2 separate regions of the Homo sapiens genome follow, and region 2 is linked to region 1. Evidence: promoter capture Hi-C in human tissues and cell types (Jung and others, 2019). All regions are on one chromosome and are shown on one strand. The core of a region is centred on a gene start or on the middle of the fragment in contact, and the rest is flanking DNA. Distances in the headings are between cores, read along the strand shown.

Region 1 (6,268 bases), core at 951-3,450:
GCACAATGTTACCTGTAGCAGAAAAGTACAAGAAAAGCACTTTCTAGCCTCAAATCTTTGGCACAACCCCAGTTTGGTAAAGACGAAGCAAGTCAAGGGTGGCAGGCTGAATTTCTGCTCTGTTTTGCAATGAGAGTTGGATATTTAGCAATATACAACGACCAAAGCAGGAGTTGCCTCCTCCAAGGGTGGCTGACACATCTAAGGGGTCCCTTCTGCTTTTCACCAACTGGGAGAGTAAATTGAGACCAGCAGGTTGAGGTGGGAGGTTACCAAGGATACCAAATGGCCCTGCCACATCTCTAGCTGCTCTTAGTACAGCCATGTCAAGACGCCATTTTACATGTGTCACCTTCACTTGACAAATGAAATTCAGAGAGGTTGTGCTGCTCCAGGACCCAAGGTTGTTGCCCAGCCAGAGCGGGTCACAGATCCACTTTCAGAACCAGTGCTCCTCTTCAGACATCCTCCCTCAGTCTGCCAAACACTGCCCCAGGCTCCAGGGCTGAGTCAACAGTCTGCAGTCAGAGTCCAAGTTCCCAGTTCAGACATTTGGTGCCCCACAGAACCTTGTACGGGTCCCTGGTCTTCTTTGAGCCTGAATTTACTAATTTGTAAAATGAGGCCTAGGACATTATGTGGATGGGACGTGAGGCTCGTTTGCTCATGTATAAAATTGGTTTCCAAACTCTGGTCTGGAAGCCTCACTTGGTTCTAGTTTGCATTCCTGGGCTGCAGGAGTCCATCTGACCCCAGTTCTAGTCCTCACTTCTTGTCCTTGGCATCATAGCCAAGTACCTTTGTTGCCAACTCACTATCGGGTCCTCAGGCCCTTCCACCAACCCAAATTATAGATGGGGCTGCTTTCTCCAGCCTGGCTGCCTTGATGGTCAGTCCAGTCCCTGCAGGGCCCTGGTCCACAGATGAGTCTCCTAGCTGGAGGATCCCATGGGGTCCAGAGACCTCTGGAAGTGCCTGGGGTTCAGAGATGTCACAGAGCCTTTGCACCCACTGGCCTGGGGTGCCTGAAGAGGATGGTCCCTCTGGGGAATGCCCTGGGGCTCACACTAGTGGGCTGCACCCTCTTTCCATGCCACCCACACCTCCTCACTCCCTTAGAGGGAAGGAGATGAGGGCCCTGTCTCCTCCTCCTCCTACAGGGACCCACTCCCAACCAGGGCCCACCTGCTAGCTGCTGCTACCCCTCACTGGAACTCCACAAAGACCTCTCCTGATAGACACACACAGAATAGACCTAACATGTGCTTTTCTTGCTTGGAGATGGGTTAGGCTCAGACCCTAAGTTTAGAACAGTGGCAAAGAGACCAGGCATTGGCTCAGAGTGACAGGGCTCTGTGGTTGTGTGACATGGGTCTCTTTCATGTGGCTGCTTCTGCTTCCTTATGTATAGTAATAATAGTAGTGTTCACTGACACCCGTGAATCGGGTGCTGGGGCAATGCGTTAATGGGAATGGTGTAACTTGGTCTTCCTAAACACCCCAGAAGGGGTGGGCCCATTTCCCCATTTTACAGGTGCAGGAAACTGAGGCACATGGAGATTACAGAACTGTCCCAGGCCTGACCGCGGCGGGGTTCAGTAGCATCTGGAAAATCACTTTAGCCCAGGCCTGGCTGAGGCACTGTAAATGGGCACTTTTGTTAATAGTTTCCACATATTCTGGGCTGGTCTGTGTGGACCCTCTCAGTTTTCCAAGGGTTAGCACCTCGGACCCCGCCCTCCATTTCAGGGCAGCAGAAGGGGCTTCTCCCCCCTCAGCTGCTTGTTGGCTCCCGAGGGTCCTGTGGAGTGAGCGCAGGAGGCCCACGACCAGCAGGTGAGTCTCAGGCCAGAGGTTCCCTGGACGCGCCCCCACCCCCTGGCTCCCAGATCCCGCCTTCCCTTAGGAATAAGTGCATCTGTGGGCAGAGGACCGCCGGTCGCACTGCAGCTGTGTGTTCTGTGAGTCACCAGCGATCACCTTGCAGAAACTCAGTTTTCTCATCTGGGAAATGGGGCTGTTGAAAGGAGACGCCACAGATCCTGGAGCGAACCGATCGCGCGGCGGCTCCCGCGCCCGGTGCGGGCCTCGGGACCCAGCAGCCCCGGCCCCGCGTGGCAGGCGGCCCAAGGGGCGGGCCGGGGGCGGGCGCGAGCGCGGGCCCGGGGCGGGCTGGCGGCGGCCGGGCCAGGCGGCGGCGCTCTCCCGCGTCACAGCGCCGGGCGGCGGCGGGGAGATGCGGCTGCTGGCACTGGCGGCGGCCGCGCTGCTGGCGCGGGCTCCGGCTCCGGGTAAGCGCGGCGGGGCCAGGCGGGAGCGGGAAGGGTGGGGGCCGGGCGGCCGCGCCGGGGAGGCCGGGGCTCCGGGCCTGGTGGGGAGGCCCTGCCACCTCCGGGCGCGGGCGGGGGGCGGCGCTGTCACTGTCGCCAGCGCGCTCCGGTGGGCTCGCCGAGGGTCTGGCGGGCGCAGCGGCGCCTCCCCAAGGTTCAGAGGACGCCTCCCGTGAGCGCGGTCCCCGTCCCGACCTCGCCTGGGGCTGGGTACTCTCGCAGCAGCCGAGATCTTCCCAGCGGCAGGCCCCGAGGGGAGATGCAGCAGGAGCGCAGCCCAAGTTGGTGGTTCGCTTTCCTTTTTTCCACGGCAGTCAGGACACACAGCTCTTGGCAGATTCCTCGGAGCAGCAACTTCCCTTTCACTCTCTTCGGAGAGTTACTCCGAAGACAAGTCAGGAGCGGCTGGATCTGCCTTGGCCAGGAGGTGGGGAACGGGGACTTGATCGTGGGCCTTTTGAGGTGACCAGGCCTGGTGAGAGGGGCATCCACGGCTGGATGCAGCGACGCCTCTCCACCAGCACCCTGCTTTGAGGACAACTTCTTGGTCCACACTAATGGCTTTCATTCGGGTTTTACTGCTCCCACTTGTAAGTGTCTTAAGAATTTTCCCTCTTTATTCCCCAGAACTCTGTCTGGCTGCCTCAGGGCAGCAGGGGCCGTACTGGCTGGAATAATAGTAATAATACAGGTATCGATGGTCACTTTCCCTGGGTGCCTATCTGGGCCTATCTCATTTAATTACAACACTTCCAAGTAATAATGACTACAACACGTTTATATATCCAAGTATTAAAAAAAAAAAACATGAACTTGGTTAATCTCACCAATAACCTCTGAAGGAGGTGCTATTATTATCCCTATTTTATAGATGAGGAAACTGAGGCTCAGGCCCATGAACGGACTTGCCTTAATTCAGTAGGCTTGTAAGTGGTGGAGCTGGGATTTGAACCCAGTTAGCCTGGCTCTGGGCTCTGTCAATAACCACTAAACTGTGTTGCCATTGTTTTGAAAATTAGGAAACTGATGCTCAGAAGTCATTTTCCAAGAGTGATCTGGCTACCAAGTGTAGAGCTGGCATTTGAGCCAGCATTAATCCATAGATCCCAGTCTGAGGAGGAGGCACTTGGATAACAGTGGGAAGAAATCCATCTACTGTCCCCCAGCTATGAGTGCAGCCAGGTTCCCAGTGAACCTGAAATCCTTGCTGCGGGAAATGTACCTTTTCCCAGTTGTCACTGTCTCGGCTGGAAAAATGATGAGAAGTTTGCCTTGGACTGGTGGGCAGGGCCAGTTCTCGTGGTCTCTGTGGAGTAGCCAGCAGCCAGTGGTCCTTCCTCTCCCAGGCTCCATGACCACCTTCTAATTGCAGGAGCTGTCAGAGTGGGTGTCCCAGAGATTGTCTTTTGCTGGGGATCAAGGGCATTCTCACATTTCCAGAGCCCTCGGGAGCCTTGAGAGCTGGAATTCAGGAGCCTTTAGAGTCTGCCCTGGCTGTGCCCATGGTCAGCCCTGGAGGATGATAAGAGCTCCTGCTTGTGGGACACTCACTGTGTGCCACCCACTTTTCTAAGTGCCTCATTCATGACTCCTCACCACGATCCTGCTGGGAGGGGCTGGCAGACCCATTTTATACATAAGTACAGCTTCTTAACTGCTGTACTTTTCTGCCTCTCCATTTTGGGACTGACCAGGACCCTAGTGGTCACCTGGTCCCATGTCTCATTTTACAGGAAAGAAAACTGACAGACAATATATTTACGATAGCAAATCTGTAGGCTTGAGAGGTGGCTGAGCTGTCTTTGAAGCAAGATGGCCTAGGTTCGAATTCCAGCTCTGCCACTTACTATGTGAGCTTGAACAAGGGCTTAGCCTCTCTGTACCTCAGTCCTCTTGTCTATAAAATGGGAATAAACAGAGTATCAGGATAAATTGAGAAAATACATCTAAAGGGCATAGAGTTTGTACCCGGCAGGTATTAGCCTCTATCATTGGGCAAGGTGATATTTTTATCCTGGATGGAGCTATTTTCAGGTGATAGGCTAATGTGAGTGAATCAGTCCATGGGCTAGGTCTGGCATCACCTCTGCTTAGTGCTCAGTAAATACTGGCTCCTGGTGCCAAAGACTGTTAAGTAATATAACTATTTCTTTCAGAGATTTAGCTGTATGAATTCAGACTATTCTTTTAATAAGAAAGCTCACTGCTGCTGATCAGTACTGACAGTTTGCATTCCTTATAAACTTAGAGGCTCTGGTCTCCCTGAAGTGAGCAGGTGCAGTTTCTTCAGGCAGAGAGGAAGTGGGAGGCACACAGCTACGAGCACATCCCTGGCCTGCTCAGAACCGAGGGACTGTGCCCACCTCTGCATCCCAGATGAGGCTGCTGCCTTGTTCTGTTAGTTGTCCTTACTCCCTCACCTGGAAGTGGCCATCTCCCACTTCACAATGAGTAGGTTGTTCTATTCAGCTACAACGGTGTCCTAGGCTGTTTTCAGAGTGGTGTTAGTCCTTTTCATGACATTATTCAAATATAAGCAAGGGGGTTAGACACCTTAACTTTTATCCACAGGAATTTGAGATTCGTCTACAAACATAACCAGCTACATCGCTTGTGGGATCCAGTGTCAAATGAAAATGTGGGCCTCCTTGTTAAAATGTATTAAAATTTCAAGATAGCAACAGCAGAGATTAAACCATGTTGGGGTGTGAGGACTTCCAACCATGGGGTCCTGTGTGCCTGCAGGTCGTGGGCCCACGAAGCCCACTGTACTCACAGGACAGTGTGCATGTCACTTTCTATTGCTCCCACCTCCCCAGTCTCAGGGCATGCAAACTCTATCTGTATTTTAAGGGTGCTTTTGCATTGGAGCCTATGCTTACTGTGAAAGGCATCCTTTTCCCATTTTTCGGATGAGGAAACTGAAACTCCAGGAGGCTCACACCTAACAGAATCAGGTTTCCGGCCTGGTTCTGTCAGATGCCAGCCCCTGGCTCTCTACCCAGCCCCACCAAGCCACTGCTTCTGTGTCTCATCGTTTCTCTGCAACTACCAGAGAAGGCCTGGGACCATAAACATCCAGTGCTTAGCCCATGTGGTGCCCAGGACTACCAAGTCCCAGAGCATGTGCTTGTTGGAGACTGGGATTTGCTGCAGCAGGAATCCTGTCCCTCTGTTTGTATCAGTCTCTTCCCTATCAGTTTTGTTATATTCCTCCTTCAAAAAGTGGCCTTGGGGAACCTGACTGGGGTAGGGAATGCCTTCTGAGGATCATGTGTTGGCAAGGGTGGCTGTTGGGCCACAGTGGGGTACAGTTCACCAGGATGAACTGACCTTTCCATTTCCAGCCTGTACAGGGTCCCTCTTGCCTCACAACATTTGCAGAGGTGGGGCTCCCTCCTTGGAAATCATTCCTTGTTGCTGCCTTGAACTTTATTTCATTAGCTGCAAGTGAGTCTTTAGCTCAAGCTCACATCCCCAGAGTCCCTTCCCCTGACCCCGAAGTCTAGATCAGGATCTTGCCATGATTTTCTTAAACCCTGCACTTTTCTCTGTGGCATGTGACACTGTAGTTATATTCTCCCATGTCTTTTCCCCAATGAGTGGCTGCCTTACCCACTGGACTGTCCACTGCACAAGGTCAGGAATGTTGTTTTCTTCTTCACAACATGCCTGCTGCATGAGGCTTAAGCTGGAGGAAGCAGGAACTGTGAGTGGAGAGGTACAACGGGGAGGGGGACGATGCGTCTCCCTCCCACCTCAATTCTCCGCAACACAGGGTCACAAAACAAGAAATTAATTTCTTCTTCGGGCCTGAGTGACTTTGGCAATCCTTCCTAGGCCAGGAGAGGGAGGATCTGCCCTGCCTGGCTGCTCCATCATCTACCTGGTGGAGGAGGGGGCGAGTGACACCATCAGGTCCTGCCCCTCTGACAAGC
Region 2 (6,268 bases), core at 1,815-4,314, 190 kb before region 1:
CCCATAGGCCCCATCTCCTAATACCATTCCACTGGGGTAATCTCAGTGAATTTTGGAGCACACACATTCAGCCCATAGCAGCCAACAGTGAAATGGCAAAATTTACTTCCTCAGTTGAAGTCCTTCAGGTGAGGGCAGCAGACACGTGTTGAGTGTCTGTGAAGCAGCAGGTCGACCCCTGCACCTGCCCGTGCTCACTTATTCCTTGATAACACTTGGCATGATAGGCTCCCCTCATCATCTTACAGCTGATGAAACTGAGCTGTGACTGGCTAGGTCAATCGCTGGTCCCTTGCTTAAGGCCTGGGAGTGCTGAGCAGGGCCTCACCCAGTCCTCGGCCTCTGTGCCCTGCTCTCTGGCCCCAGGTTGATGCCTCCTCAGCATCTCCCATGTGGGGCTCGCTGTGTCTTTGTAACCCCTTTTACTTTTGGAAATCAGAAATTATAAGTTCATTTAGACTCCTAGAAGAAAGCGTAAGATCTCGTAAGCGTGACTTAAGCTTATTTATGTATTGATCCATTCAACAACTACTTATTGAACACCTGCTTCACGTCACCAGTTTTGGTGCTGGAGATATAGCCATGTGCAGGGCTGACCCGGGCCCTCTCCTCACGTAACTGGATGGATCCTGGGAAGTTACTGCTTTGTAAAAGCACAATTACCTCTGATTGCCTTAGATTGGCTTCCACTGGGCAGTGCCTCTTATGTGTGTAAAGCAGAGATTTGATATACATAAGGGTCATTGTGCATCCAGTCTGGCCATTTTGGCTCCACTAGCCTGATATTTGGCACATGGGAGAGGGGTGTCAGCCTGCAGCCTGGCCTGGCTTGACTGGACCCAAACTCAGGTTATAGCCTGGGAAAGCCAAAGGCTCTCAAACTGACTCTGAGGCCACTGTGCCCTGGGAGAGAACAAGTTTGGCTTTGGCCAGCCCCAGGAACATGATGTGGTTGGGTGCCATGATGGCAGTGTTGGCCTGGTGGGAGTCTGAATCTTCTACAACCACATTACATGTGCAGGAGCCTCTAAATCTTGTAGCAGGTAGAAGTCCAGGATGCCCCAGGGGTTGTGGTTGAAGAAACCAGCTTGCCTGGGCTTGTCAAACCCACAGAACTGGATGTGAGCAGGGGGTAGCAGGGGCTGCTGCCCTCTGGGGAGAGACTGGAGGAGTGATGCTTTCTCTGTGAGCTCAGCCCAGCCTGAAGCTGACTTCTGGCCTGGGTAGCCAGTCTGCCATGTCTGGATGGGTCATTCCCCAGAAGCTTCCAAGTGCTGCTCAGACCCAGGGCTGTGCCTACAGTTGAGGCCAGGGAACAAGGCACAGGGAAGGCCGGGCTTGGTCTAACCCAGGACATGAGGGTGACCAATACCTGGCATCACAGACCCAGGGAGGGACCCTTATGGCAGGAGAAATGAGAAGTCACAGGAGAAAAGAAGAGAGGAGGAGAATGGGACTGGGTTCAAGCAGTCTCCCACAAACCTGTCCCCTCCTGGTTCCTGTTCCCTGATGACCAGGGCAGGCCAAGCGATGTTTAATAACCAGCTCTCTGGGGCAAAAAGCACTGGATTTGTAGCACTGGCTAATTTCTTGCTGCCTCCCTGATATCCCAGGCAGAGTTGGGACGAGGTGTGCTCAGTGGGCCTTGCAGGGTGCAGGGGGCTCTGGTGCGCCTCTGCATCCCAGCAGGCTCCGGAGCTCGCACTGCTTAAACTTGGGTAGAGTCTCACTCCACAAAGGCTAACCTGCGAGCTGTCAGCAGCACCTCTTTGCGCAGTTTCTGACCGCTTCTGGAGGTGGAGCATTATGGAGGATCACTCCTTGGAACTCCTGGTGGCCAGATGGGCTGGACTCAGCCAGACACCGTCTCTGGACAGTCCCTTCCACTAGGAAGGAGCTCAGGCCTGGCACTGCCAGCTGCTCCACGACACTCTCTCAGGTGTTCTCTGCAGACCTCAAGGGGCCCAGCCTCAGCAGCCAGATGCTCCCTAAGCAAAGAGCCCTTGGCTTCTCCTCGTGAGCTCAGAGGTGCCCTTGGCTTCTCCTGGCGAGCTCAGAGGTGCCCTTGGCGTCTCCTTGTGAGCTCAGAGGTGCTTTATAGGAGCAGCCATGCTGGCATCACAGGTAAAAGTAGGAGCAGGAAAGATCTGGAAGGGAGAGCATGTGATCCCAAACAACTCTGTTCACCCTGTCTTCCTATCCCAGGGTTGGGTGAGTGCCAGTCCTGCTCCACTGCCCAGGAGGGGAGTTGCCTGAGAGGCAGAGATTTTGGGAGAAAGCAGGGTCAGCCTGGCAGCCATGGTTCTGCTGCTCATCCTTCTTACCCTTGCACCTCCTTGTTGCACCCAACCCAAACTGCAGGGCCACCCCCACTGCCAGGCCAGCTGCTGGAGAAGGGACACATGGCTCCTTCAGGAGCTCTGGGGCCATGTGAATGGTGGGTCCCCCTGGGATCTGGGCACAGGTCCTCGTGCTGCTCTGTGCCCTTTAGCCATGGTTGCTGAGTACAACCGTGCTTGAGGGACATGGCATGTGAGAGCCTTTCTCATCTGCAAGTAAGTGGACCCCATGCCATGCACCTGGCACAGGTGCTCCCAATAGACTTTCTAAGTCCCCACATCACTGGCACTGCCCAAGTCTCTGGCCAAAATCACCCCTGGCTGAGAACTGCTGTTAGAGAATCAGGGAGGGAGCACTAGCCCAGCACCAGGCTCTTCCTGCCTTCACTCATTCATGTATTCACTTGCTCTTCCCCTCCACATTTCCTAGGAACATCTTGCCCTGGATTCTGGAAATGGCAGGACCTGACATGAGAGTCATCAAATAGGCAGTACCAGCAGTGCGAAGAGCGGAGACCCAGCTCTAAAGTGCTGTTGTCATGGGTGTCACTTAACTGCTACACCTGGAAAAAAGGGATAATAAAAATCAGCCCGGCTGTGCCCGCCCCTGGGACTGCCCACTCCCAAGGTTGCTCCCCATGCTGGACACAGGAATTTTCATGGAATCGGTCCCTGTGGCAGGCACTGCTTGAGAGTCTCTCGATGCTGGAGTCAGCCAAACCACCAGGTCCTGGATCCCCACCACAGCAGGGAGGACGCCTGGACTAGAAGGAGGTTCAGAAGGCCCTGACCATTGCAGCCCCGTGCCTCACCTGCCAGGTCGACAGGGAGCGAGTGAATGGCATACACATCCTCCTCTCCGTGTCTCCACAGAGCAGAGGTTTCTCCTCTACATGTAGTAAGAAATGCATTTACATCATGGCACAGAACATGCTTGGAGACATATGTATCATGGAAAACCAGACAAAGCAAAGCTTACCCTTCTTATATGTACTGCTCCATCCTAATCTAATCTATTCGTTCATTTAAAAAACCTCTTCACAACTTAGTGATTTCAGGACTCAGTAATGACTTATGATCTATAGTGATTTAAAAAAAACTCTCTGAGACCAGAAATTTTAGGCATCCCTAATTATGCCCAACTTACGGGTGCCCCGTTTCTGGTAATGCTAGATTTTCATCTGGATGGAGAATTGGAGACCCAAGGCCCAAACAGTGGCTGATCAGATTCACTTGGGGAGGGGAGGAGACCCCACCCGCTGGTGGCAGGTCCATGGGCTGGGCCTTGCCTTACTGCTCTAGCTTATGTTTCCAGTCTCCACACAGTGCCTATGCCTAGCATGGGGCCTTTTATTTGCTAAACAAGTGAGTGAATGAGTAGGTGAGAGAAATTTCTCTTATCCACTGAGTGGGTAATGAGCACCTGGTATAAAGGTACTTTATAACCTAGTATTATTAATATTTATTATTTAATTAGTATTCACAACAGCCTCATTACACAGGAGTTACTCTTGTTCTTTACAGAGGAGAAACGTGTGTAGCGCAGAATTTAATACCTGGTGGTGTGGGGCTGGAACCTAGGGCTGCCAGAGAAGTGGTCCCTTTCACCTGTCTTTAGAGAGCCTCCTCTAGCAGCTTCTAGAATGCCAGCTACAGGTTAAAAGTCTCTGCTCAGCACCACACTGTGACTTTGGGGACCCACCTGCCCCTGGCTACCTTGCAGCCTCCATACTCCTGGTTCTTACCCACAGGTCTCCTTAGAGCTCATCTTGAGACCTATGGCCATAAGATGTCCTTCTATTCCCCATACCCCATGACACCTGGGATTCCATAGCATGGGGTGCAAAGAACTTGAAACCCTGCCCTGGCCCTTACTTACTGGGGCACATAACTCTCCAGTTAAGAGCTTCAGAATCAGACAGCTTTAGGACTTGCCACTTAACTTGTGTGAGCCTCAGTCTCACTTTGGTGACCTTGGGGCAAATGGAAAGGCAGACCCAGCAGCTTGATGCTTGTGGAAACCCCTTATGGATCAGGAAGTGGGTGGTGAAGGGACAACTGTAACCTATGACCAGATTCCACCTTGGAGAGCCTTGTCTAGACAGAAGCCCACTTGAGGGCTCCTGGAGGAAGAGACATTTGTTTTTGCTGGGATGGGGGTATCCCCTCAGGAACCATCCTTTCTCCAGCCCCTGGGAAGGGAGCCAGGCACTAAGGGGAGGGGAACCCCCTGAAAGCAGCCCCGGAGGGTGCCAGCCTTGGCAGAGAGAGGAGGTTCAGGCAGGACTCCTGAGAACTACGGGAGGGCAGGGTTTCTACAGAGTCCATCACATTGTCTATAGACCAGGTTCTCCATATGCAAACTGGTGCCATGAGGTTGCGTGACACAGGCAGAGAAGCAGAGCTGGAAGAGCTGTCACCAAATGTTAGCCCCCTGGTAGTCCCAGGCACCCATCCTGTTGACGGCGCTCCTGCAACCTGTCCCTCACTCTGTATCCATGGCCTCACTCAGTGGGTGCAACAACTGGCAAATTGAGTAGGGCTGACGCAAAAGGAATTTTAGGTGGAGAAATTGAAGGTCAGAGAGGTTAAGGAACTCACTTAAGGTCACACAGCCAGAGAGCAACAGAGCCAGGATTCAGGGCCAGGTCTCTCCAGAATGCAGTGAGGCAGAGAGTCAAGAGATGAGATGGTCTTCTATCTGCCACAGGTTTGTGCAGGGCGAGGAGTGGGTAGCAACCCCTCTCCTAGCAAATTCTCAGTTATCTCTCTCTGCATCTGGTCCCGCCAGGGAGCATTTGCTTTAGTAAAGCTAGAGGAGGCATGTGTAGGACCTGGCTCTCCTGCAGAGCTCATCTTCCCTGGCCTGGAAGCCACAAAGCTGTGTGCATCTGGGATAAGGAGAAGGGGACCTCACACAGAGCACCCCTGGGAATTCCTAAGCCTCCCACATAGGTCTGAAGCTGTGCCTGGCCTTCTCCTGTCTCTGCTGGAGGCTGGAAAGTAGCTGGTAGATGACTGCTGTCCTTTCTCCAACCAGCACAGCAGGGGTAAGGCGGCTCAGCCAGGGGAAGGAAAGGGGAGAACAGGCTCCTGCAGTGCAATGTAAGGAGCTGACCAGCACCCAACTGCTTCATGGAATTCCTCATGGCAAGGAAAACCATTCAGATGTGGCCAGCCTGGTTCTCCTTTTCAAATTTAAAGCTGAAAGATGCTCCTTTAACAACCATGTTTATTTCAACCTATGGCTGTGTTGATGTGAAAAACTTGGCTCCTTGGAGCATCTCCTGTTGTGTCTGAGAACAGCGCCAGCCCCTTGCCCCCCTTTCCCTTCTTAAGGAAGCATCCTCACACTTTTCAGAATGCCCTCGGGGCTGGCTTAACAGTGCTTGATCCCGCTCAGGACTCAGGAGATCTGCTGGCCCTGAGACCGCACCTGGAGAAAGCTGATCTGGGTCTTGAGTGATGGGAGGTTGCCCCTGCTTCAGGGAGGACGTACTAACAAGTCATAGTCTCTTGGGCCACTCGGGTCTGATGCTTGTCAGTGGCTGTGGTTTGTGCCATGTCTGCCCTTGTCCTGAGCCTGGTTCAGAGGTGGGAGTATCATTTTCCCACTCAGGCTTGACCTCCCATCCACCCCATGTGCTGAAGGTGCTCAGATCCATGACCTCTTCCGCACAAGAGGGGAGGTGGTCACCATGTGTGGTCACCATGGGGTTGGGGTCAGTCCTGTATGGTGCCAGCTGCTCTCCCACTGAGTTGTGAGCATGAACCAGCTGAACTCTGAGGCACAGGACTTTCTCCTTGGTGACTCTGGAAGGTATAGGCCCAAGCTGGAGTTTAAGTGGGAAGAAAAAAATCTCTAAATAGGACAGTGGAGTGAGGAGAGCAGTTCTTGTATTTCTACCACGTGCTGGGAACTTTTCATA

What was found. Contacts are between HindIII fragments. The study calls those that stand out against the background at their distance.
Region 2: a fragment that was not itself captured here is called in contact with the fragment with the promoter of VSTM4 in region 1 in 2 of the 25 tissues and cell types used here (heart left ventricle and spleen).

Annotation. Positions count from the first base shown.
Region 1 is chr10:49,111,454-49,117,721 of GRCh38, reverse strand. VSTM4 (V-set and transmembrane domain containing 4) reads left to right here and starts at 2,200. Exons shown (of 8, transcript NM_001031746.5): 1 at 2,200-2,291. The coding sequence starts at 2,237. The HindIII fragment of the contact is 10,769 bases long and covers 1-6,268 here.
Region 2 is chr10:49,303,003-49,309,270 of GRCh38, reverse strand. The region is part of intron 1 of C10orf71 (chromosome 10 open reading frame 71); the gene reads right to left. Among named protein-coding and RNA genes, the nearest start is that of C10orf71, 7.0 kb to the right of the region's middle. RefSeq lists a silencer at 1,114-1,163. The HindIII fragment of the contact is 4,363 bases long and covers 883-5,245 here.